7 separate regions of the Homo sapiens genome follow, and regions 1, 2, 4, 5, 6 and 7 are each linked to region 3. The links are contacts of gene promoters, found by promoter capture Hi-C in blood cells and fetal thymus (Javierre and others, 2016). All regions are on one chromosome and are shown on one strand. The core of a region is centred on a gene start or on the middle of the fragment in contact, and the rest is flanking DNA. Distances in the headings are between cores, read along the strand shown.

Evidence for each region. The method cuts DNA at HindIII sites, captures the fragments that hold promoters and counts their contacts. A CHiCAGO score of 5 or more calls a contact.
Region 1: a contact is called between a fragment that was not itself captured here and the fragment with the promoter of SMNDC1 in region 3, in 12 of 17 cell types (fetal thymus, monocytes, neutrophils and 9 more). The highest score is 11.8, in fetal thymus.
Region 2: a fragment that was not itself captured here is called in contact with the fragment with the promoter of SMNDC1 in region 3 in 17 of 17 cell types (fetal thymus, M0 macrophages, M2 macrophages and 14 more); the score reaches 20.7 in fetal thymus.
Region 4: a fragment that was not itself captured here is called in contact with the fragment with the promoter of SMNDC1 in region 3 in 1 of 17 cell types (total B cells); the score reaches 5.1 in total B cells.
Region 5: a contact is called between a fragment that was not itself captured here and the fragment with the promoter of SMNDC1 in region 3, in 1 of 17 cell types (M0 macrophages). The highest score is 5.2, in M0 macrophages.
Region 6: a contact is called between a fragment that was not itself captured here and the fragment with the promoter of SMNDC1 in region 3, in 10 of 17 cell types (activated CD4 T cells, total CD8 T cells, total CD4 T cells and 7 more). The highest score is 9.4, in activated CD4 T cells.
Region 7: a fragment that was not itself captured here is called in contact with the fragment with the promoter of SMNDC1 in region 3 in 6 of 17 cell types (total CD4 T cells, M2 macrophages, activated CD4 T cells and 3 more); the score reaches 8.0 in total CD4 T cells.

Annotation. Positions count from the first base shown.
Region 1 is chr10:110,923,455-110,926,988 of GRCh38, forward strand. The region is part of intron 1 of SHOC2 (SHOC2 leucine rich repeat scaffold protein); the gene reads left to right. Among named protein-coding and RNA genes, the nearest start is that of SHOC2, 5.6 kb to the left of the region's middle. The HindIII fragment of the contact is 2,261 bases long and covers 1,087-3,347 here.
Region 2 is chr10:110,876,084-110,879,892 of GRCh38, forward strand. All of the region lies in intron 2 of PDCD4 (programmed cell death 4), which reads left to right. Among named protein-coding and RNA genes, the nearest start is that of PDCD4, 6.1 kb to the left of the region's middle. The HindIII fragment of the contact is 1,757 bases long and covers 953-2,709 here.
Region 3 is chr10:110,302,794-110,306,786 of GRCh38, forward strand. It overlaps SMNDC1 (survival motor neuron domain containing 1), which reads right to left and starts at 2,127. Exons shown (of 6, transcript NM_005871.4): 1 at 1,955-2,127; 2 at 675-794. The coding sequence starts at 794. RefSeq lists a silencer at 1,639-1,958. The HindIII fragment of the contact is 6,895 bases long and covers 1-3,993 here.
Region 4 is chr10:110,943,012-110,946,714 of GRCh38, forward strand. The region is part of intron 1 of SHOC2 (SHOC2 leucine rich repeat scaffold protein); the gene reads left to right. Among named protein-coding and RNA genes, the nearest start is that of SHOC2, 25 kb to the left of the region's middle. The HindIII fragment of the contact is 343 bases long and covers 1,953-2,295 here.
Region 5 is chr10:111,023,731-111,027,829 of GRCh38, forward strand. No RefSeq gene overlaps it. Among named protein-coding and RNA genes, the nearest start is that of MIR548E, 37 kb to the left of the region's middle. The HindIII fragment of the contact is 2,850 bases long and covers 305-3,154 here.
Region 6 is chr10:110,990,760-110,994,359 of GRCh38, forward strand. The region is part of intron 3 of SHOC2 (SHOC2 leucine rich repeat scaffold protein); the gene reads left to right. Among named protein-coding and RNA genes, the nearest start is that of MIR548E, 3.6 kb to the left of the region's middle. The HindIII fragment of the contact is 826 bases long and covers 1,648-2,473 here.
Region 7 is chr10:111,007,578-111,011,343 of GRCh38, forward strand. It overlaps SHOC2 (SHOC2 leucine rich repeat scaffold protein), which reads left to right. Exons shown (of 9, transcript NM_007373.4): 6 at 1-76; 7 at 1,671-1,808; 8 at 2,136-2,253. Among named protein-coding and RNA genes, the nearest start is that of MIR548E, 21 kb to the left of the region's middle. The HindIII fragment of the contact is 807 bases long and covers 895-1,701 here.

The DNA.
Region 1 (3,534 bases), core at 967-3,466, 620 kb after region 3:
GCAAAGCAGAGTTTATACACGCAAAAGGATATTTTAATTACCAATGATCCTTAAGCTTTTGAGATAATGGTAGTGTATGTGCTTCTTGAGAAAGCATGCAGTTCCCATTATCAAGATTTAAAAGAACACTAATTCATTTTCACACTGTATATCTCATTCCAACTTCTCTAAAGGTCAGAACTGATTGCAAAAAGTAGTACATGCTCTAAAATGTAAGGATTCATTTATGAGAAAGAGTGAACATACTGCTTGTAGCTAAAACATTACAGGAGACCTTAAAAAGGGGTATAATTGGTCCCTATGTGAAATGAACCTGACATATTTTTATAAATTATTTGTGCATGACTATCTTTTGTTGATAGCACTAGGAAGACTTCTAACGTTTAAATACTTTATTTGCCCTCAATTACTATTTAAAAGTCCTATAATTTTAAGTAATTTTACAGCTGACAAAGATAAATATTTTTTTCTTTTAGTTTTTCTAATGTCTTGGAGGTAAAGTGGAAATGGCCTGTTTTGACACATAATTTCTAGAACTTGGAGTTAATTTGATCAGTTACATTTGGGTTTTTTTCAGTTTCCAGTTTTGTGTTGTATAACACTTCTTCCTGCTTTCAGTACTTTCTCAGTCTTGCAAATAGTCTTTAACTTTTCAATTTTGTTCTATAAATATTTCTTAGTAACTACAGTTTCACATTCACCAATGTCATGGAACTTCTGCTGAATGCCATGTGTGTCCCAGGCTCTGTGGATACAGAGATAAATATGTTTCCTTCTTTCAGTAAGTTCAGAGTTTGTTGCATGAACCGGACAAGTCAATAGTTAATTGTTAAACAATGTGACACATGCTTTTAACAGCAGTATATACACTGGCAAACTCAGATGAGTTAAGACTCACACTGCACGTATAACTGGCAATGCCTACTGGAGGACAGGACTGGAATGAACTCTTGAGGAATAAGTAGGATAGGGGAGGGTAATAAAAGCACAAAGGTTAGATATGTTTAGGTCCACTTGGGCAGTTAGAGAAGAATAACAGTTTGGATTCTAGTAATAATATTAGGTCATATGGTAGACTTCGATTAAAGCTTGTATTATTATTAATAATAATATTTCTTGTGTTCCTAATTTTATTTGGGCTTTGAACTGCAGATCTGTATTAATGTTGACCAAACTATTATTTAAAACTTCACCTTCAACACCTGTGAAAAGGGAAAAATTTTCACCTATTTTTCATTACTATTTTAATTAAATACAAGGAGAATATATCAGTGTAACGTGGGGAATAATTCCCAGGCTTAGAACTTGGATAATGTTTCAAAATCATACTTAAGGCCGGGCGTGGTGGCTCACGCCTATAATCCCTGCACTTTGAGAAGCTGAGGCGGGCAGATCGCTTGAGGTCAGGAGTTTGAGACCAGCCTGGCCAATGTAGCGAAACCCCGTCTCTACTAAAAATACAAAAAATTAGCTGGGCGTGGTGGCAGGCACCTTTAATCCCAGCTACTCGGGAGGCTGAGGCAGGAGAATCTCTTGAACCCGGGAGGTGGAGGTTGCGGTAAGCCGAGAACATGCTACTGCACTCCAGCCTAGGCGACAGAGTGAGACTCTGTCTCAAAAAAAAAAAAAAAAAAAAAATTAAAATAAAAAGCAATACTTAAATGTCTTTTCTCAGCATTTATGTATCATGTTAAGAGTAACATTTATGAACTTTCTTAGAATTCATGGTAAAGTTTTTTTTTTGTATAATCATTTAAAATGTACTCTTTTTTGAGTACACTTTAAAAAACACTTTCCATACTTACTTGACAGTGCCACTCTTTAGGTAAGTCAGACTGTATGGTCAACAGTTATACCCTAGAAGCAGGCTTTGTAATTGTCTTGTATGATTTAAAAGTTCTCTGAACTTGAGAATTGACTAATTTTTCACGCAGTATTTTTTGGGTTTTTTTGTTTTTAAGACAGGGTCTCTTTTTCACGCTTTTTTTTGTTTTTGTTTTGGTTTTGTTTTTGTTTTCAAGACAGGGTCTCGCTCTGTCACCCAGACTAGAGTGCAGTGGCACAATCATGGGGCTCATTGCAGCCCTGACCTCCCTGGGCTCAAGTGATCCTCCCACTTTAACCTCTCGTGTAACTGGACTACAGGTGTGTACCACCATGCCTGGCTAATTTTTCTATTTTTTGTAGAGACTAGCTTTTGCCGTGTTGCCCAGGCTGGTCTCAAACTCCTGAGCTCAAACAATCCACCTGCCTTGGCCTCCCAAAGTGCTGGAATTACAAGTGTGAACCACCACGCCGGACCTTTCATGCAATATAATTTAATATTTCTTCCAGGGCGTATCATGTGAGGCCTAATTTTGATATCCCAAACTCCATTCCCTGCAGAGTGCCATAGTTTTCTGTGTTAAAACACTCATTTGCATTTCTTGATGCTCCTAATTATTTTTATTATAGAAATCTGAGAAATTTAAAAATATTAATATTTTAGCAATTGCCTTAAACATGTTGTTACACCTCATTTATCTTGAGATTACTTATAGGAAACTAAAACTATCTGGTGTCATCGGCTTGGTTACTACCTCATGCACTCTTCATGTAGCTAAACTCTAATCACCCTTCAGGCCTCAATTTTGTATCCCAGACTTTGGGAGACCTTCCTTTCATCCCTAGTTAGGTTCTTCTGTTTGAAGGTATCCTAGTGCTTTTACTTCCTTTTTTATAACACTATTTTTGTAATGATATATTTGATGTCTGTCTTTATTGCTAGACTGTAAGCCTTAAGATGAGCATTGAGTATGTCTGTCTTATTTACTGTTCCACCAGTATACAATGTCTAGACTTTGTAGGTTCCAAGTGGAAAATTAGTTTTAGATGAATAGTCTACAGCTCCAAAACAAACTGAACAGGCCCAAAGGAAGGACAAAGACATGTCATAATGTTCTTGTTTTTAAACACACATTTTCTGTTTTTAGAGTCCTTCAAGCCTTAATTCAGGCATTTTTATTCTCACGTAGTGCACAATTTTTAAAAGTTTGGTAACCAAATGTAAAAAGGACTGAAATTACTCCTAGAGGGATAAGAGAGTTGAAAATAAGAGCAGAAGAAAAACTCGAAAAGCCAGATGCAAGACATTTTGTAAAAACAGCAGTTTATAGCAACTTAATGTTATGACAAACATGCGTAGAATCTTTCAAGACACTTTGTTTTATACATAGAATAGTATAGAAAATAATGATCTAGGATCATGAAGAAGAGGTTATTGGATATTAGTAAATTTTGTTAATAACCTCATGTATTTTGGAAAAATTCCATTCAAAATGATACAATTTAAAACTTTTACTGTGTTAAGCTTTTCTTACTGGGAAGGTTTGCTTAATGAGGTAAAATATAGTAGGTAACAGTATTTATTGAACAAAATTTAAGTTGAAACAAATAATTATCTGAAAATACTGATCAGTGCAGTATAATATACTACCTTGTAATTTGTAGAGGTAGATACTATAATTACTATGTGTTTCTTTGTTTACTTTGCTA
Region 2 (3,809 bases), core at 581-3,080, 570 kb after region 3:
TCCTTTTTTCTTTTTTTCTTCGTTTTGAGACAGGATCTTGCTCTGTCACCCAGGCTGGAGTGCAGTGGTGTGATCATGGCTCACTGCAGTTTTGACTTTCCTGGGCTTAAGAGATCCTCCCCTATCTCAGCCTCCTCAGCAGCTGGGACAACAGGTGTGTGCCACCACACCAGGCTAATTTTTTATTTTTTGTAGAGATAGGATTTCACTATGTTGCCTAGGCTGAAATATCTTGAAGCTTGACTATGTTGTGAGGAAGCTTCAGACCATTCCATATTTTATAAAAACATGATAGAAAAACTATCTTTAAATACTCTTTTATTCATGCTGTAAGAAAACAGGCTATATTATTTTTAAAGTCAAGTTTGTGATTTTTATTTTCATGGAAATTCATTACATGTCCTATTTTTCTGCCTATCCTTTCACATTCCACATATTCCTATTCTCTGTTATATAGTACAGAATAGAGAAGAATAGTGAGCCTGCTTATTTTCACATGGGCTAGTTAGTGATTTCTGTAATATAAACTTACTGGTATCTTTGGTATCTTTCCTAACAAATAATTTTTATATTCTAAATTACCTAGGGTATTTTCCCTAATTCTCCATGGTGCTTCAATAGCATGTTATTATCATAAAAATGAACAGTTTTGTGGAATAGATGACCAAATGTGAGTAACTCAAGATAATTTAAAATGTATTTATAGTTTTAAAAATAATCTCCCAAAAAGTTAATTAGAATTGTGTAATATCTGAATAGTGAGAACAGTTCATATTGGTATACTTTGGATAATTCTTTGTCTTATAATTTTATTAATATTGAAAGCTATTTTCTGTCATTTTAAGTGTATTTCGTAACTAAATACTACATCTTTCTTTCCTCAGTGACTTAACTCACTATTGTTTACAATGTACATAGTTTTCTTTGATCTGAACAAACATGTTGAATTTGAAGCTTCTTTACCATTGTTTATTTACAGATCTTTTTAAAGTATGGTAAAAAATTGAAAAAAATTTATGTAATTAATGATCATTTCTGTGCTGCTGTATACAATAGCTGTATGAGTATGCTTTAGGGTTATAAATGGATAATATGTACCTACTTAATTGAGATGGGGATGGTAATACAGTTTAGAATATATTTTACATATAGGTAATTGCTTCTTTTCTGCACTGTCCAGTATGGTGACCACTAGCTACATGTGGTTATTACTCCTGGGCTCAAGTGATCCTCCCTCTTCAGCCTCCTCAGTAGCTGGATTACAGGCGTGTGCACCACTGTGCTTAGCCACATGTGTTTGTTGAGTACTTGAAATGTGGCTACTCTGAGTTGAGATGAAGGTCAACTATCTCAATAATTTGTTATATTGCTTGCATGTTGAGATGATATGGTTATATTAGATTAAATAAAATATATTTAAATTAATTTCACCTGTTTTTACTTTTTAATGTGGCTACTGGAAAATTTAAAATTTCTTATATGGCTTGCATTCTATTTCTATTAGAAATAGAAACACAGCTTTAAAATGTGTACTTTTTGTTTCCTAACTACAATAAGACCTAGTTCTAACCCTGTTCTTGGTGCTTGTGTCCAGCACTGCTTTAAAATAAAAGACTTGTTCTTCAATATTTGAATAGGCCTAAGATAGACCCTCTTTGTAGTAAATTCTTCACATAGCAAATAGTCCAAGTCACACTCTTACTCTTTTACTTGGAGGAAGTAGGTTATTCTGACCTTCAGTTTTTTCATGTATAAAATTGGGATATAAATACCCTCTGTATAGATTTATAATTAGGATTTAGTGAGATATTGTATATGTGTGTTAAGTCTGTGAAGCACATACTAGGTATGTAATACATGAAAGTGTGGTAATGTTATTCTAATTATGCCACTCATTGGACACCAGTAATTGAAAATGTGATTTTCTGGTGCTGTGGTCATATACAATTGGAGTGGTTACTATTGAGATATCAGAATTCAGAAAGAGGGAATTAGTACACAGTAGGAAACAATTTTGAAGTCAATCACATTCTGTACTCAGCTTATCATTTTAATTTTGGTTTTCTTAAAGTCAGCTCAATAGGGGTTATGGAACTCCAACAGTTAGGTGAGTATGAGTAACAAAATATAAAGCAATTAATACAAACATGGGTTAAAAATGATAAGGTCAAATATATAAATTATACTGAGAGAATGTTTACTGCTGCAGAGACACAAACATACTTGAAAGGATGTTAAAATTGTTGAAGAAAAGAAAACTCGATTATGGGAAATAGATGTATTTAAATTGAATACTCCAAGGGACAGTTTAAGACATTTTATTATAGTTCTGACTCCTGTGTCTTCTGGACCAGTTTTGTGGTTCACCTTAATGGCACAATGATGAAAGCACTATGTTACAGGTAGATGTTTAATGTTTTTCTCAACCATCCACTCTTACACGAAAATGTCATCTAATTTATGTGATCCTGATCTTTCTGTCCCCTTCCACTTAATCATTTTTGTTTATCTCTCTTTACATTCACGCCCTTGTTCGTCTCTTTAGCTGTCAATACTCTGCTGTATTCTAGTTTTGTATTTTCTGTAGTTATATGGGATTAAAAATGTGGGTTTGAATTCTAGCCATAATCCTTTCTAGATATGTAACTTCTTGTGAAACACATTCCTTCTGTAAAATGAGGATAAACAGTTTCTTTCTAGAGCTCTTGAAGCTTATAGACCACATATGTAAAGTGCCTTAGCTAATAGGTACCAGGTAGTGTGGAATCTAATAGGTACCAGGTAGTGTGGAACCTGGTATCTAATAGATGACAATAGTAATGGTAATGATGAAAGAAACAGTACTACGACTACTTCCACTAAGACTATAATTACTACTGATGGTTATGATGATGTCCCAAACACACCATCCTAACACCGGCTTCTTACCAGTTTGAAAACTTTTAAGGCATTGTTTGACTTCTCTTTAATCCTAGATACATTCTGCTTAAAAGTCCTTCATTATTTTCTTTAAAAGTGTAACATTATTATTTATCCCACAGTTACTACCCTTGCTCTTTACCAGTTAGCTTGTGACTGAATTACTGAAGCATTTTCTTAGCGGTTTCCTACTTTATACTTTCTCTTTTTGTAATATACTCAGTATTCTTCTGCCAAATGAATCCCTCCCATCTCTTCCCTATGATATCTAACTTAAGCTCTGACAATTTGAGTGTGGGAGTAGTTAGCAGTGATTCTGGTGAGGTAAGCAGGGGCAAGATCATAAAGGACCTTAAGTTACAAGGTAAAGAGTTTACATTTTGGCTGGGTGCGGTGGCTCACGCCTGTAATCCCAGCACTTTGGGAGGCCGACGTAGGTGGATCACGAGGTCAGGAGATCAAGACCATCCTGGCTAACACGGTGACCCCATCTGTACTAAAAACACAAAAAAATTAGCCAGGCGTAGTGGCAGGCATCTGTAGTCCCAGCTGGGGCAGGAGAATGGCGTGAACCCGGGAGGCAGAGCTTGCAGTGAGCTGAGATTGCACCACTGCACTCCAGCCTGGGTGACAGAGCGACACGCTGTCTCAAAAAAAAAAAAAAAAAAGTTTACATTTTTTGTGACATAATGGGACTACTTTTAAAGGATCTTCAGTGAGGGCATGCTTGAGAAAATCAGTCTTCATTCAGTATAGTTTGAAGACTGGAGGCAGGGAGACTACTTATGAGACTAGTGAAATAATTTGGCTCTAATTGATGATTTTGTTTAAAACAAAACATTCCTACCTTCCTAAGTATGTCAAGAATTGTAAAGATTTAAACACATGTA
Region 3 (3,993 bases), core at 877-3,376:
CTTGAAATCCCAGTGCAGGTTTTCAAAAAAAGGTTTCATTATCTACTAAACTCTACCATGACAAAGATCTCCTTTTCACCACATAGTTCAATTTCCACAAGTGTCAACAACTTTACTGTAAAACCTAGCCTTAAGTCTGAACATCTATGTAACAATTATACAAAGCACTTGTCTCTCTTTAGGCATTTTTGTGGTGTGTTTTCAATACAAAATGTAATCCACTAGCTTTGGGGAAAAAAAAAAGGCACGCATTTTCAAAGAATCTTGTGGTATTAAAAAGAATCTTAAGGTTCTATTTTTCTCCTTCAATCTTTGTTACTTTTTGAACTAAATTTCATTTGCCAGGTCTTAAAAACTAAAAGCGTTTTTCATTGTGAAGTTACATGTACCTCTCGTCTTGAAAATCTGACAGACTTGGAAATTTCTATCAACTTTAGTTTTTAAAAATTATGTAAGCACACAAGATTTATATAACAAAGAACAATATTTCACTCTGATGTACAGAAACCTGAGAACTGGGGAAGCAACCCTACTTCTACAAGCAATGGTACCTACAGAATTTACATATATACATAGGGTGGGGTGTAACCCCTCAAAAGGCGCTTTGGGTACTTAGGGATTCAAGCAATAATTTGAAAAACAGAGAAAAAGTACAATTGTCTACCCATACTTACTTGTAAATCTTTCTTCAATTTTAGCAAATCTTCATTTTCTCCATTTCCAGATAATGCAGCTTCAACTTGCTGGAGCTGAGCTTTGTAGCTTGCCAGCTGCTTTGCTAAATCCTCTGACATCTAGGGAAAATAAAAAGGGTTAGACCATGAAAACTAAACCAAAAATCAAGGCATAAAAAACTAACTCCCCTGTCTGCCTGAATTACCAGTTTTTGCCTCTAACTCCTTCTAACACTGCAGCTTAATTTACCACCATTACCTTTACTCTCAGTTTAGACTTCAGCTAAACCACAAACTTAAAGGCAACAGATTCTGAGGATTATAAACTTGAGATACATTCCATACTTTAAAAAAGCATACAGATACAAAGAAATTTCTAATTTTCTTTTAACTCCTATCCACAGGGTAGGTGCTGAATTCGGCTCAATAATCAGTGTTATCTTTTTAAAAAGCACTACTCTGTTGGAAAAGTCGAAACTTTCAAAAACAATCCAAATACTTATTTTTAAGCACTACAGTATGCTTCCAAAGCCAAACAAGTGCGTTTTTAAATTAACTACACAAACTACGATCTTTACTTGAACTATTCAATTAAGAGTGTATTTAAAAGTGCCTCTCCAAAACAAAAATCTTTCGCCCAGTCGCTTAAATATTTATCGGTGCATTATCTTCAGCAAAAAGAACAGCACAGGTACTCTCCCATTTAGGCATTCTAACGAATGTGCCTTTCGCCAAATCCAGCTCAGTCATTTTCCTGAAAATAAGATACCAATTAACCTTTTTTGATGGTTTATAAGCAAATGTACCACGTTTCCGAGGACCCTTCTCCTTCGTAAAATTCCCGTCCAACCAAAGGCTGGGAGCCTGCAAAGGCCCCCTAAGAGTTACAGCGACCCAGGCTGCTCTCCTCCCCGCCACGCAGCACCTCAAAGCCCGCCACAACTCGATCATTCGGACGTGGAAATCCACACGCCAGCTCCAAGACCACCGCCGGAGCCCCGCCGCGCTCCAACAGGCAGGCTCCACAGGGAGCCGCGCGGCGCCCAGCCCCACCCGACCCGGTCCCCTGCGGGCCGTGTTTGCCGCCGCCGCACGGAGGCCAGCGCCGGCCGGGCCGCCGAGGCTCAGCTCTGGCTGAGAGACGGCCGTGGCTCCGGGATCCAGGGCCAGCGCCTGGGCGTCTCCGGCGAGGCGGGCTCCTCAGCCTTGGGCCTCCGCTTCACCTCGGGAGGGACCCGGGCCCGGCCAGGCCTTACTCTCTCCCTCAGGGGGGTTGTTACCTTGTGTGGGGCTGGGGGCGGGGCGGCGGGAAGGGGTCGGGGCAAATGAGCCCAGTGGTAGTGGCGGTGGCAGCAGCAGCAGTAGCAGTAGCAGGAAAATCACCGCGACGACAGCAAGGCGACCCGGTCTGAAAAGGAAGAACTCGGTCGGCGGCGAGGGGGAAGGGAGGAACGCCGGGCACTGGAAGGAGGAAAAGACAGAGACGGTGAAGTCTCGCGAGAAATACAAACTCTCGCGCGAGGTCGCTCGACTCACGTGACTCCGCGCGCCCTCTAGCCAGTCCCTGGCTGTCAGGGACACGAAGTAGGCGGGGCCTAGGAAGGAAATGGCGTAGCTGGGCTTCGCCAGGCGCGGAATGCAGGTTATCTTCCTGGAGTTCCGGCTTGGAATTTATTGGAAATGCAAATTCTCAAGCCCCACCCCAGACCTCCTGAATCCAGAGACTCTTGTTTTAATAAGCTCACCAGATGATACCAATGTCCGCTGACGTTTGAGAACCACTGCTTTTCCGGGGCGGTGGTGGTGGGTGGCGGGGGGTGTTGGTGGGGGCTCTCTTTACGTTGCCCTGGCTGGTCTCCAGCTCCTGGGCTCAAGCTATCCTCCTGCATCGGCATCCCAAAATGCTAGGATTACAGGCGTGAGCCACCGCGCCCAGCCTGAGAACCACTACTTTATATGATACAAGCCTTAGTAGTAACAGAAAGCTAATTAAATCGTGACAGAAATAACCTATTGGAGAGAAGATTGATTTCTTTAAAATCTGTTTTGTTAAAACCTACTTGGTTTTAATTTAGTTGGGTTAATCTCGCCTGATAGGGAACAACGTCCAAGTTAGTCTAGAATGGTAAAGAGTGGTAGGAATACTCACATTTGTGTTCAAAAAGAAATGCCCCTTGTGTATGTTTGTAATAATATATACGCTTTCTGGACGGATACACAAAACTGTTCAGAGGTTTGGAGTGGAAGCCAAATGTTTTATTGATTACCCTCTTTGCTGTTTACCCTTTTTCCTTTTCTTTTTTTTTTAAACCATATATATATAATTTATTTCAATTAAAAAAGCAATAAAGGCCTGAGACACAAAGTTTTATATAGATGACAGGAAGCAACCTTTCCTGGGAGGTTGGGAGTTTGTTGCTGGATCCATAAAAAGGCCCACTTCTCGCGGATCACCTGAGGTCAGGAGTTCGAGACCAGCTCGACCACGTGGAGAAACCCCGTCTCTACTAAAAATACAAAAAAAAAAAACCAACAACAACAACAACAACAAAAAGCCGAGCATGTTGGTGCATTCCTGTAATCCCAGCTGCTCGGGTGGCTGAGGCAGGAGAATCGCTTGAACCTGGAGGCGGCGGTTGCGGTGAGCCGAGATCGTGCCATTGCACTCCAGCCTGGGCAGCAAGAGTGAAACTCCGTCTCAAAAAAAAAAAAAAAGGCCCACTTCTCAGATGGGCTCTTTTGAACTGTGCCAACATCTTTAGTTCCTAGTTTTCTTTTCAAGGAGCCTTCCCTTTTGTTCTCTACACACACACACATAACCCTTGCAGTGAGTCAGATAACCTGTATAGATGGAAACTAGGTCGGGTTTGTGAGTGTGAAAGATTGAAATTGCAGCAGAGGGCAGCAGTGTGTAGCTAGAATTAAGAAGGCAGACAAAACAGAAAGCATGTGCTTTTAAATAAATATTCGTTTAAAATAAAATGTAGTTTTAGAGAACTTCTGTTATTGTAATTGTGTGTTTTAAGAACCGATGCGAGGAGGAACTTCCTTGAATATAAAGTCAACCTTATTGTGTAAAAATCTCTTAAATGAGAACTTTTCCTGAACCCCATAGATCAGAAAATAGGCAAATATTCATTATAAGTTCCATCATAGATTTCTATACCATCTTAATAATTTTTTCAGGATTGTTTTTAGGATTGTTTTTATCTATGCAACATTCATTTATAAAGAAAAGCTATATTGAATTTTAATTTTCACAAAGAAATAACAGTTTGTATGTGCCAGATACCATTCTAAGCACTTTACACAGGTTCAT
Region 4 (3,703 bases), core at 874-3,373, 640 kb after region 3:
AAGAATTCTTTCTGTCTGTCAGCAGTTTGATAATCATCTGCCTTCATGTGGATTCTCTTTGAATTTATCTTCCTCGGAGTTTGTTAAGCTTCTTAGATGTATAGATTGATGCTTTTCTTCAGAATTGAGATGTTTTCAACCATTATTTCTTTTCCTTCTTTCCTTCTGGGACTCCCATTATGAGTATGTTAGTTCACTTCATGATATTCCACAGGTCTCTGAGGCTCCGTTTCTTTTTCTTTATTCTTTTTTTTTTTTTCTGTTCCTCATACTGGATAATATAAATTGACCTATCTTCAACTTTGCTGATTCTTTCTTCTTCCTGCTCATATCTGCTGTTGAACCCTTCTAGTGAGGTTTGCATTTCCATGATTGCACTTTCAACTCCAGGTTATTTGGTTCTTTTAAAAACAACTTATATCTCTGTATTGATATTCCCTATTTGGTGAGACATTGTCCTTATACCTTCCTTTAGTTCTACAGGCATGTTTTCCTTTAGTTCATTGAACATTTTAAAAATAGCTAACTTACAGGAGATTTGATATTAAATTTTCATTTACAACTTTTACCTAAGTGAACATGGGCTATCATGACCTTCTGTGAGCCTGTGTCTTCAACTCCAGGGCGTGATCAATAATAAATGGCTGAGTTGTCCTGCTGGAACACTGAAACCTTGCTAACTCACTAGAGAACAAAAAGTAGTCTCACCATGTTAAATATTAAGTGAGTAACTTGTGTTTGTCAAATTGAGAACCTATTTTCTTATATCTAAACAAGGAAGTTAATCTTGAGGCAGTAGGAATGGAATTAAGCATTCTGGTCACGGAAAGTCACATTGGCCTTCTATGGATCAGTTTTAACAGTCTGCATTCTCCTTTTCTTCTTGGCAACCCAGAATCTTTCAACCAACTCTTTTAGCACACTTCTTCCACATATTATCATTTCAGATCGTCTTTTGCCCCAACTTTGCCCCAAGTGGCTGTGGATTGGATTTGATCTCACCAGTCTCCTCTTTCTTGCTCGTCTCAAAGGAAGACCTGCCTATTATCTCCCTGCTTTTTTGTTATTACAGAAAAACTGAGAATGACAAAAACATACCTTGGAAAATTTATTATGAAATCTGAAATGTGACATGTTACAAAGTTCATAAGCTCCTTGTTCCATAGTATATTGTTATCTCCATTCTTAGGATATTCTGTTGTGATACTGTTTTCTGCTTTTTATTTTGAAGTTGGTACTTATCCAGGCCCTCTTACCATTTTACCATTATCCAGTGAAAATTTATGGATTCTACCTTTATGTGTGCTCCTTCTGCCCACAGTGGAAAATGAAGATAATCCAGATCACAAATGAAAAGTATGTATCTTTGAGCCAAAAAAAAAAAAAAAAGCTGACTTAGAAGTGTTTAATAAGTCCAATATCTGGATTTCCTCAGGGACAGTTTCTGTTATTTGCTTTTCTTCCTGTGTATGGTTCATATTTTCTTGTTTCTTTGCATATCTTATAATTTTTTGTTGAAAATTACATTTGGACATTTTAAATAATAAATGATCTTTGAAATAATGTGGACATTCTAAATAATATAAAAATGTCCAAATAGTGGAGACTTATAATAAAATAATTTGACAACTATGAAAATCACATTTTGCCCTCTCTTCAGGGTTTGTTGGAGTACTTGTAGTTGTTTCTTCATTTAATTTCTTTTGTGAATTAATTCTGCAAACTCTATTTGATGTGTGTGACTACCTCAGTAGATAATTCAGTCTCTAGTTGGTTAGCTTAGTTGTTGCTAATGACTGGACAAAGATTTCTTTACATGCCTGGAACCAGTAAATCTCCTAGTCTTTGCCAGAGGATTTTGTGTGTGTGTGTCTTGGGGCATGCCTTCAACACTCAGCTGGGTAGTTGGCAACTCTGCCTTGTCCTTATGTCCTGCTTGTGCAGAGCTTCAAAGCTTAGGCCCTTTTCAGGTCTTCCTTGAGCATGTACACAGCCTTAGGCATGTGTATGACCTTCTAGATTCCCAGTAATATGTCAGAGCTTTTCAAAGTCTGTTACGGGTATTTCATTCTCAGCTTTTCCTTTTAAGATTTAAGTCTGTTGCTCCAACTGTTATTCACTGCCTCAAGTAGATATGGTATAAAACACTTTCCTGTAATTTTTTTCAATGAATATCTCCCTGGGGAAAAGGCGTTTTGCATTGTGCAAGCTCTGAGTCAGGTCACATACGGTCAGCATTGCAAATAGGGTCTTCCTGGAAACAAGACTGCTCAAGCAATAATTTGGGGAGAATGAAGCTTTGAATGAGCTACAACTCTTGCTGCTTTTTAACGTAGCTTCTAGAGTGCACTGGGAATGTGAGCTGTCGTTTCTTCAAGACTACTGTGGATCTGGAGAGCAAGGGATGGGACTAGGGCAAGTTAAAATAGAAAGCTCATCATTCTTAATGAGATTGAGCTTTTTAAAAATAAATGCAACTTGGATGCAAGCTTTTTATTAATTTTTAGAGTTCTGATAAAGTTGATTCTATTTTCCAGTTTTCTTTGTGCTTTTGTGGAAGAGACAGTTTTTAGAGATGCTTACTCTGCTGTTTTCTGTGATGTCGCCTCCACTTGGGCTTTGCCATCCCACACTGACAGACCTCCATGTTTGACTCTCCCTATCTCCACCCCAACCCCACTCAGACTCTGACTCTCCATGCTAGGCTTACCCTGTGTGTGAATACCTTTTCACCTTGCTTGAAATCTTAACTGTTCATGTTGCGCAGCCTCCTCCTTAACCATCAATCAAGCCTATTATGTAGAAATCTTCCTCACTCTCATAGACTCCAGTATCACACCCTGGTTCATCACTACCTGTGGATGTTCTTCTCACCCCCAATCAGGTTCTGATTCTCTGTGTTGAGCTATCTTCCTATGAGCATACCCACCCTATCCCAATTGGCCTCTTAAACATCTTGTGGGTTACCATCATATGTCAGTGTTCATCTCTTCCTGTTCTAACTGATACCCTACACAGAACTGCATCTTTGTGGGATTGTCCTTTTCATCCTACTCAGGCCCTGAGTAGGATTTTTTTAATCAAATAAAAATCCCTTCAGTTTGAATAGTATAATCATGATATCACTCAGTGAAATCCTTGATATCTTATTATTGTAGTGGTAACTTCTGATGGGTATGGGAATGACAATTCTATACCATGCCTTCTTTATTTTTCATTTTAGTTTTACTGAGATAACATATTTTGAAGCTGATCATTTATATTTCTTAAAGAAGAAATTTATTCTAAAAAATTATGTCTAGATACATTAATTTGTTGTTTTATTCATGTAGTAACCATTTCTTGGGCATCTAGTATTGGCCAGGTTCTAGGCTCTGAATATACAGCTGCAAACCAAATAGTCAGAAGCCCCTGCTTTCACAGTTTTCACATTCATAGAGGAGAGGGAGATGATAGACAAAATAAATAAGTAAATATATTTTATGAGGTAGTAAATGTTGTGAAGAAAAATAAAGCAGGGTAAAAAGAATAGGAAGACATTTCTCTTTTATATGTAGATCAAGAATGAGATATTTGAGCAGGGAACAAACAATGTGGATATTTGAGAGAAAGGGCTGTATCTATGCAGATGGAATAGCTAGAACAAAGACTTCATGTGTGAGCATGTAGATCTGCATTCAAAGAAAAGCAAGATTAATATGAA
Region 5 (4,099 bases), core at 480-2,979, 720 kb after region 3:
ACCAGAAGAATAAAGGGAAAGAAGCAAGTATTTGAGGAGTAACGACTAAGAATTCACAAGATTAATGTCAACCTGCAAGGCTGTTTAAACACCAGACAATCAGTTAATGTAATCCATCACCTTAACAGGCTAAGAAGAAAAATCATATATCAATAGATGCAGAAAAAGCATTTGACGAAATCTAGCACTCCTTCGTTACAACTCTTGAGCAAACTAGGAACAGAGTAGAACTTACTTAACTTGATAAAGAACATCTACCTGAAACCCACAGCTAACATTATATTTACTGGTAAAAAAAACTTGAAGCTTTCCTACGAAGACCAAGAACAAGGGAAGGATGTTCTCCCTCACAGTTTCTTTTCATTATCTTACTGGAAGTGATAGCTAATGTAATAAGACAAGGAAAGGAAGTAAAAGTCATACAGACTGGGAAGGAAGGAATAAAACTCTTTGTTTGCAGATGACATGATTGTCTATGGAAAATCCAAAGAAAATGGCAAAAACAACTGATGATAGCAAGTGATTATAGCAAGGTTGCATAATACAAGGTTTATATACAAAAGTAAATTGCTTTCCGATACAGAACAAAGAATAATTGGAATTTGAAATTAAAAACATAATACCATTTACATTAGTACCTCTCTCCCAAAATGAAATACTTTGTTATCAATGAAACAAAATATAAAACACACATGAGGAAAAATACAGATCTCTAATGATAGAAATAAGAATAAATGAAGAGAGATTCCATGTTCATGAATTGGAAGACTTGATATTGTCAAGAAATCCGTTCTTCACAACTTGATCTATAAATTCAACACAATCTCAATTAAAATCCCAGAAAGTTGTTTTGTGGATATTGACAAACTGATTCTGAAATCTATATGGAGAGGCAAAAGATTCAGAATAGCCAGTGAAATATTTAAAGAGAAGAAAAGAGTCAAGAGGTCTGACACCACCCAACTTCAAGACTTACTATAAAGCTACTGTAATTAAGACTGGTATTACAAATAGATCAAAGTAACACTATAGAGTCCCCAAAAAGAGACCCACACAAATATTGTCAACATTTTTGACAAGGAAGCAAAGGCAATTCAGTGGAGTAAGTATAGTTCTTTTCAACGTACAGTGCTGGAACAAGTGGGGATCCATATGCAAATATAAGCAAATCTAGGCCTTAAACTTTTCACAGAAAGTAACTCAAAATTGGCCATACCTAAATGTAACATGGAAAACTATAAAACTCCTAGAAGGAAACCTAGGAGAAAGTCTAGATGCCTTTAGGTCTAGCAGTGACTTTTTAGATACAACACCAAACCACGATTTGTGAAAGACATCATTGGATTTTATTAAAATTAAATTTTTGTGTTCTTCAGAAGACACTATCGAGAGAATGAGAACAACAGACTGGGAGAAAATATTTGCTAAAGACATACCTGATAAAGGACTCACCCAAAATAGACAAACAGCTCTTAAAACTCAGCATAAGAAATGGAACAACCCAATTAAAAAATGAGCAAAAGATCTAAACAGACACCTCGCCAAGAAGATATACAGATAGTAAGTAGGCTCATTAAAAGATGGTCAGCATCCTCTATTAGTTAGGGAATTGCAAATTAAAACAATGAGATATCACTGCACAACCATTAGAATAGCTAAAATCCAAAACACCAACAGCACCAATGCTGGCAAGAATGTGGAATAACTGGAAATACAATTTACTTCTGGTGAAAATGTAAAATGGTACAGTCACTTTGGAAGACAATTTGGCAATATCTTACAAAACTAAACATACTCTTACCATATGATCATGCTTTTTAGTATTTACCCAAATGAATTAAAACATCTGCACAGAACCCTGCAATTAAATGCATACAGCAGCTTTACTCATAATTGCCTAACTTGCAAGCAATGAAGATGTCTTTCAATAAGTGAATGGATAAACTGTGGCACATTCATACAATGGGATATTACTCTATTCTATAGGAGGAGGAGTGGCAAATACTGTAGGTATCACAACCAGACCCCTTGTATCCCTTTACCATTTTGATGCACTCTGGCTGCCTCTCAGTATCACATAGAGAGCTTGAGGTGTCTGGGAAATCCCTAAATAAATAAGTTATCAAGCCATAAAAAGACCTGGAGAACCGAAATCCTTATTGCTAAGTGAAGAAGCCAATCTGAAAAGACTTTATACTGTATGATTCTAACTAAATTATATTCTGGGAAAGGCATATCTTTAGTGACAATAAAAAGATCAGTGGTTGACGAGAGTTTGGAGGAAGGGAGGAACGAGTATGTAGAGCACAGAGGATTTTTAGGTGGTGAAAGAATTCGGTATGATATTATGGGAGATAATGTCATTACACGTTTGGCAAAACCTGTAGAATGTACACCACCAAGAGTGAACGCTATGTAAACTATGGACTTTGGGTCATAATATGTATCAATCTTTAGTAACTGTAACAAATGTACCACACAGGGACATTGGCTGGGGAGGCTGTGGGTGTGTGTGGAGAGATATATATGGGAACTCTCTGTACTTTGCTCAATTTTGCTGTGAACGTAAAATTGCTCTTAAAACGTTTATTTGAAAAAAAATGATGTTGCTATTTCAGATAGGGTGGTCTGGGTAAGTCTGGCTAAGAAAGTGTCATTTGAGTCTTAGATGAAGTTTAGCTATATCTGAGGGAAGGGCATTTTGGGTAAAACAGCTGATTTTTAAGGAAAAATGAGGCCTGTGTGGCTGGAGTGAGGAAAAGCAAGTTGGTAAAGAGTAGAGATAAAGTCAGAGAGATGGGGAAGAGAAAAGCAGATCATGAGGCTTTGTGTGTCACGCTAAGGATTTTAGCTTTTATCCTGAATGAAGTGAATAAATGTAGCTCTGCCACTACTAGATCTGTGACCTGAGGCAAGTTATTTTACCTCATTTTTTCACATATCTGTTGGCCATTTGTATGTCTTCTTTTGAGAAATGTCTATTAAGATCTTTTGCCCATTTTTAAATTGGAGTATTAGTATTTGCTATTGAGTTGTTTGAGTTCCTTATATATCCCGGTTATTAATCCTCTGTTGGATTAATAGTTTGCAAATATTTTCTCTCATTCTCTAGGTTATCTCTTCACTTTGTCGATTGTTTCCATGGCTGTGCAGAAGCTTTTTAGCTTGAGGTAATCCCATTTGTCAGTTTTTGCTTTGGTTGCCTGTGCTTTTGAGGCCTTATGAAATCTTTGCCCAGATCAATGGCCTGAAGTGTTTTCCCAATGTTTTCTTCTAGTAGCTGCAGGTCATATATTTACGTCTTTAATCCATGTTGAGTTGATTTTTGTATACAGTGAGAGAGATAAGTCTATTTCATTCTGCAAATGGATATCATTTTCCCAGCATGATTTATTGAAGAGACTATCATTTCTTCAATATATGTTGGTGCCTTTGTCAAAAATGAGTTGACTGTAAATGTAAGGATTTATTTCTGAGTTCTCTATGCTGTTCCATTGGTCTATGTGTCTGTTTTTATGCCAGTACCATGCTGTTTTGGTAGTATATTTTGAGTTCAGATATTGTGATGTCTCTAGGTTTGTTCTTTTTGCTCAGGGTTGCTTTGGCTATTCTGTTTGTTTTTTATGATTCCATACAAATTTTAGGAATTTTTCCCTATTTCTGTGAAGAATGTCATTGGTATTTTAATAGTGATTGCATTGAATGTATAGATCACTTTGAGTAGTATGGACATTTTAACAATATTAATTCTTCCAATCCATGAACACAGGATATATCTCCTTTTTGTATGTGTGTGTCCTTATCAATTTCTTTCAATAGTGTTTTATAGTTTTCGTTGTAGAGAGCTTTCATTTCTTTGGTTAAGTTTGTTTCTAGGTGTGGTTTTTTTGTAGTTGTTAGAAATGGGATTGCTCTCCTGATTTCCTTTTCAGTTCATTTGCTCTTGGCATATAGAAATGCTACTGATTTTTTTTTCCAAGTGCACAACTAACATTGTAGCTCCTGATTTTTGTATGTTGATTTTGTATCTTGTAACTCTACTGGTTTATCAGTTCTAGTAATGTTTTGGCAGAGTCTTTAGTTTTTTCTAAATGTAAGA
Region 6 (3,600 bases), core at 811-3,310, 690 kb after region 3:
AAACAAAAAACAAAAAAAAACACAACAAAATGTTGCTTTACTCTACTGCAAATCAGACAGGAGAACCAAAATTTAAGATACTTGAAATGTTATCAAGTGATTTTCTTATCCCTCTCATTGATGTTTAGTCACTATGTATATCTTAGGATATTAAACATGCTAGACATTTTATTGTTTCTTGAACATATCAGGTAAATTCTAGCCTTGAGATCTTTGTGCTTCCCATCTCTCTGTTTAGAACTCTTTTCTCCTAAATATCTGTGTAACTTTGCCTGCTCCTTCAACTGATCAGATAGATATATATAGCATGATTTTCATTCGGCCTTCTTCTCTGTCTCAAATAGTCTAACAATATTTTATTATTTAATATTTTTATATATGTGTCTGTATCTCAAACTTGTTAAATAACAGTCAAAGGGGCATGCGATTAAAGTACTGAAATGAATAATCCTGGTAAACAGAGAAAGCATAGGTGGTGATATATGATACAGTCTTCTAGTAAGTAGGATTAGTGTCCTATTGGAGGTAATTCTTCTGTGTTTTAAGTGTGTTTACTAATATGAAAACATTTGATTTTATTATTAATCTCTTGTAGTTTAGATGTTATCCTAGAATAACACATATGCCTCACCTCTAGCTTATTCTATAGGGCCAGATTACAGTATTACAAATTGGAAATCAATGAGAACTGAAACATTAACAACAAGAAAATTTTAAATAACATTGCATTTACTTTTATATGCTTTGATGGTTGTCACCAAGTATAGTACAGCTGTTACTCTGAGTAAATGGCAAAGTAAATTAGTAATATTTATTGAAACTTTTTATGATATTGTAGTCATTTATCGATTACCATGTTTATTAAAATAATTACTTTATCTTTCTCCATCCTTTCCAGTCCTAGTATTTTGATGATGTAGCAGAAGATTGAGGTTTGGTGGGAAACTTTGACGTTTGGGTCTTGGTCTGTTAAAAATTTCAACAGTTTTAATTGACCTTTGAGATTTTCACTCTCATTTATTGAAGATGAAGAATTTACCCTAAGTAGTGGAAACTTAATTGAATTATGGTTCTCCTGATACTTCTCCTTTTTTAAATCCTACTCTAGTTCTGAGAAAGTATAACTTAAAATGAAAAACAAACAGAAAGCCCAACACCTGTTCTGCAGAGTTGATGCTAGTCTGGAAGCAGCTGCCCACTCTCTTTTCCTTGGACTAAAGAATCTTGCCCTAAACTTGTAACTGAAAATCAAATCTTGTATTGTCTTAAAATCACTTCCCAGAAATCACTGTATTTACTTGCCTTTTCCTTTTTTTCTTTTTTCTTATAAGTAGACCAGAATGTTTTTTACTTTTTTCTTTATTTAACATGAACATTCCTGGAGTAACTATCACTCCCCTGTGATAATTACTGCCATTTACTTCCAGGCTGAGAAGCTAGTATCGCTGACAACTCATAGGATGTGAGGAAGAGACAGAAGGAAATGGGTTGGGGATTACCAAGTTGCAGTTAAGTAAGAGAGTGCTTAAATACATATTTATAGTTTCTCTGATTTAACTGTTAGTCTGCCTTGTTGAATAAAAAAAGTATTATTTTATATGAATATTTTCTCATTCAGAAATTAGCTATGAACAGAAGAAAATATTAAGCTTTATTCCAACAGTTATTTTGTTTTAAAGTATGAACCTGATGTTTTTTAAAGCCTTCTGGTACCTCTGGTAGTTTTATGTAATCCAGGGAAGAAACAGTCCGAAGTAGGAAAAAATACTTTACTTTGTATTTCTTCTCAAAATGAGATTAGGAGAGAACTGTGCCACAAAACCTTGCCTTCAAGGCTGGAGTGCAGAACAATTCACAGAAGCCTTTTTGTTGCACTGGGCTCTGAAGAAATGTTACATTAATTATGGTTATATCAACAAGTAGCATTTTAGTCATTTTAGTAATTGGGTTTTAGGTAATTACAGTGCAGCGTATGTATAACAACTTTACTAGTTTTCTTTTTAATGGTGGTGTTCTTTGGGTTTTTAACATTCAGGAATTTCTGTGTTGCTTACTTTTCAGTTTGCTTTCAGTTTAATGTTTCTGAAAAAATAATGGTACCTTTGACATTTCATCCTTCCAACCCTGAGTCTTTCCTACTATTTTTTTTGCTACTTTGTTAAAATAAGATTATGATCATTTAAATTAGTCTTACTCGAAAGTTATACTAAATTAAACTAAAGTTGCTGGTTATATTTGCTGAAATTGAAAGAATCTAATTTTAATTCATAGCCATTTGATTTCACCATATTTTAAAAATCTGACAGCGTAAGAGAAAGCAAGCTGTCAAAGTGGAGCACAGAACAATTTGTAGACAAAGTTAAGCACTTGAAAGCTAAATGCCAGTGATTGGCAGTGATCAGCCTACGTTTATATACAGGAGCTCAGCAACAATGATTTTATTTCTTAGTCAAGATGGCTCAACATTAAAGCAAGCTTGTGTTGATTTCTAGGTTGCAGTTTAGTTTGTGGTTAAAACCACTCATTGAGAGGGGTTAGAGCTGAAACCACTGCAGAGGGTGAATCACAATAAATGCCAGACTTCTGATGTTTTCTTCTGGCGTAAAAGAGTTTTGATATTTCATCCTTAATTTTTTTAACCTTTTTTATTTAGCTGAGAGTAATGGACTTTGGCAAAATGTGGATGACTCTTTGAATTTGCCAGTGGTCTCAAGTGATAGGGCCTTTGCAAATGTGAGATTTCTTCATCAGAACAGCCTATTCTCATAGATTACATTGTTAGAAATTCAACCCCTTCCGCCCCAGCAAAAAGCAAAAAATTTAGATCCAAGAAAGGTGGAGGTACCTTTTAATTTAAATTACTACTGGTTTTGGTACTAGATAATGTCATGTAGCAATTTGGCTACATTATTTTTATTTTGTAATTTTTAAATTCTAGGAACCTACTCTGGTTTTAAAAGTGAGAAACTTAAGAGTTATTTGGTTTTGGATGAGAAATTTCAAGAATCTGGTTCTATTTACTAGGCTTTTGAGTTGACAAACATTTAGAATTTGGTTCCCCTACTAACCTTTGTTACCACAGAAAGTTTTTTAGTTTTCAGTGAGAATAAAAAACATTTAAAATATTGTATTTATCTACCATGATACTGTAAAGGGTTATTGAATGAGGCATGTCAGTTGATGGAGTAAGATCATGGAGACTTCTCTCTGTTAATAAATTCTCCCCTCTTATGGCAGACTTCAAAGACCCCTTGGTGAAAGATTCAGCCATTTTGTTACAATGGATCAACTTTCTTCCATAGGGAAAGCAGTGATGTAAAGGAGAAAAAGGGATGGTCTTGTTTACTTCCATTTTTTTTTTTAAAGGTTAGCTGCCTCATTTTATCTGCAGCTGCATACAGGAAATTAAAATTTTATCAGAAGGTTTTGAAGTTCTTTGTAATCAGACATGATCACTACTTGGAGGAAAATGTTCACTTCTGCTGGCCTTGCTGTAGCAGTGGCCATAGGAATGGAATAGGCAAGGGATAAAATGTTGATACCATCCCTCCCCATTTTACAAGGATGTGAGTAAATGGGGGCTATTCTTCACTCTTAGTG
Region 7 (3,766 bases), core at 48-2,547, 700 kb after region 3:
TATGGTAGAATTGAATTTAGCCACTAATCAGCTCACAAAGATCCCTGAGGATGTGTCTGGTCTCGTTTCTCTTGAGGTTAGTATAAATGAGCAATTAGAGAACTTCAGAACCTTCCATACGTATCTCATTTAAAAATTTCAAATTTAAATAAGCAATTTCTATTTGGGTGAATGTCATAATTAGAAATGTTAGAACTCACTTAAACATACAACCCTAATAGGATAATGAAGTGTTGACTTAGGTAGTCTAGATTCAGTGCTTTTGAATTTCTCTTGCCTACTACAAGTTGGTGTCTTTGAGTGCCATAAAGTATTAATATCTCTAAAAGAAAAGTTCTGTAAAAGCATCTTTTAGAACAATTTTTTTCTTTATTCTGTTTAAAAACTACACCATTGTCTACCAAAATAATTATCGATTCTCAGACTGTCATTTAGAATGCTTTATCATACTTTTTCATCCTAATTACCGACCTGCTATTTTATTTACTCATTGATTATTGTCTTTGTTGTAAATCTGGTATGCCTATTTCTAGCCCTCTAATTTTAGTCCTATTGTTTTCTGTATCTAGAATGCCCTCTTCTCATCCCCTTAGTTTTTTTCTTTTAGTATGTTTTTCCATAATTAAAGATCCATCTTATTTTCACCTCTTCAGTTAAGGATGATTTCTCCTGCTTCTGAGTTCCTAGAGTTTTCATCCCTTTGATGAAAATGCTTACTAATAGTAAATATATTGCTTTTTAAAATTTCCTTCATATCCATGTTTTTTAAAGGTCTAATTTTTAAATTATTTAATAAGGTGAAATAGTATGGTTTAATGGCTAAAAACATGGGCTTTGAAGTCAAACAAAGCTGAGTGTAATTATCTCTGTATATTTATGTACTTAACTTGCCCAAGCTTCAGTTTCTTAAGCTGTGAAATGGGGATAATAAGAGTATCTACCTTGTAGAGTTGTAGTTAGGATTAAATGCAATAATGCACATAATGCATTCAGTACAGTGCCTTGCAAATAGTAAAATCAAGTGGTGACTGCTGTAATTATTTTCTCCATCTTACTGTATATATTTATTATGGGTGGTGTAACATTAGGGAAAATAAATGAACATAAAAACTTACCCAGAACCTTACGTATCTGTTTTACCTATTGCTCTTTCTCCCAACCCAGTATTGTCTCCTTACCTTTCTGCTAGTTTGTAACTTTATCGGAACAAAGGCTATCTTCTCTGCCATTTTAACCCCCTTCAGTATCTTCCAGGATGCTTTCAGTGTAATAAGAACACCACAGATAATAAATAGAGTGGATTGATATAGCAAGTTTAGAAGGTAGCTTTTACCTTCCTTAAGTAATGGTTTGTAAGGGATTTTGAATAAATAGTTTCCTATTAGATAAACATTTGTAACTATTGAGCATTTTTTTGAAATTTCATTAAAATTAAATTGCTTCTTTTGTTTTCATTAGTTTTGATATAATCAAATAAAATCTCTTTTCTAATAACTATGGTGTTTTTTTAGAAAAGTAAGTTAAATATTTTATATGTTATATAATTGAACATCACCCTTAATATTCACTGTTTGGAAAATTAGCATTGCTTAATAGATTTTAAGCCACACAATGACAGTATATAATTTCATTTCATGATTTCCTAAACATTATCAATAATTTCTCATTAGGTTCTTATCTTATCAAACAATCTTCTAAAGAAGCTTCCCCATGGTCTTGGAAACCTTAGGAAGTTAAGAGAGTTGGATCTAGAAGAGAACAAATTGGAATCCTTGCCAAATGAAATTGCATATCTTAAGGATTTACAGGTAAACATTATGCTGATTTTGTAGTTTTATAAAGTTTTTGGAATCTGTTCCAAATTCCACATTTCTCTTAAGATTTTGATGTAATTCTTGGATCAGATAGACTTTCCTATTCTAGTATTAGGGCTGAGTTTTATGTTCATATAACCTGGCTTTGTTTTCCTAACAAATGGTATTTTGTGAAAGAAAAATATGTAATGTAAGTGATTCTCATTCTATCCAATCTGGTTTCCCTGTTAATTTATTTTATTGTTTAGACATATTATTTTCAGTTTACATTAAATGTAGGAAATATATTTGTAACTCTCTTTTATTTTGTAAATCTTTTAGAAATTAGTCTTGACAAACAACCAGTTGACCACTCTTCCCAGAGGCATTGGTCACCTTACTAATCTCACACATCTGGGCCTTGGAGAGAACCTACTTACTCACCTTCCTGAAGAAATTGGTATGAACCCTGTGAATGCTTGACTCTGTACTAATAATTTGCTCTTGTGCATTCAAGCAATATTTCAGATAAATATGACAAATCTATTGTTTTTTAAACTGAGGTTATATCAGGCTTAAGATTTTTTTTTTTAATAGAGCACCGATGGTTGATTGTTGATTGGTTTTGGTTAGGTTTCCTAAAGGCTGTTAGGATTGGTTTTAAAATTAGTACTGTATTTGAGAATGTTTTGGAATACTTACATTTCCAATAGGTTTTATGTATAACCTCATTTTAGAAGTTATTTTATATTCCTTCTAAATTTAAAATTACACAGGCTTGAATTAGTAATGTTTTATGCCAAAAGAACATTTATGAGATTTTAGAATTAATATTAATATTTAACCAATATTAACATTTGGGAATACTTAACATTTTCCAGGTGTTTTCATTTCCATTATTTTATGTAATATACATGACCACCTGGAATTTTAGACAGTGCAAGTTGTAATCTTGCTTTATAAAGAGAATTACTTGATTAAGGTAATTAAATGTTAGCTTTTAAATTAGTAATTCTATGCATTAATGTTTTCCCATCTATAGTGCACTGTCCCACAGGAACTATAGGTTAGTAAACACCGCATGTTCTCCTCATAGGTGGGAATTGAACAATGAGAACACTTGGATACAGGGTGGGGAACATCACACACCGGGGCCTGTCGTGGGGTAGCGGGAGGGGGGAAGGATAGCATTAGGAGATATACCTAATGTAAATGACTAGTTAACGGGTGCAGCACACCACCATGGCACATGTATACATATGTAACAAACCTGCACGTTGTGTACATGTACCCTAGAACTTAAAGTATAATAAAAAAAAATGGTTTTGGAGATAATTGACAATTCAAAATCTAGCCCTGCTGCTTATTGGCTTTGTGACTTTAGGTAAGGTATGTAAACTCCCTAAGCCTCAAGTTTCTTACCTGTAAAATAAAGATGATAATAGGAAGTTCTCACAAGGTTGTTCTGAAGCTTAAATAATATCTTACATGTAAACAAATTGATTACATACTAGCTATTATTTCTGTTATTTTCTAATAAATGCCACTGTGAAATATTCTGAATTTTGAAATTTAAAAATTGGAAACACATGAGGCAAATTTACACCTATATTTCTAGTATATTTATTCACCTGATCTCATTTAATTGCTTGAGACATTTTCCTAGAGAATACAAGTATCCTAAGAAAAAATTTTTAAAGGTCTACATAAGTCAGTTTTTGGCTTACTGCCATATATGTGATAACTCTTAGTGAAAGGTTCATATTAAGTAACAAATATTTTGCACATAAGAAATTTATTAATTTGAGAAAATGTTACATCTACAACAGAAAAGTGGTTATAGACATTGAATATATAATAAGCTCACCTTTGGAGTTTTAAAATATATATAAGTAAATGTTATATATGTGCCAAACTATCCCAAACAGAATCTCTGGAGATGGGGCATATGTATTTTCAAAAACCTCTCCAAG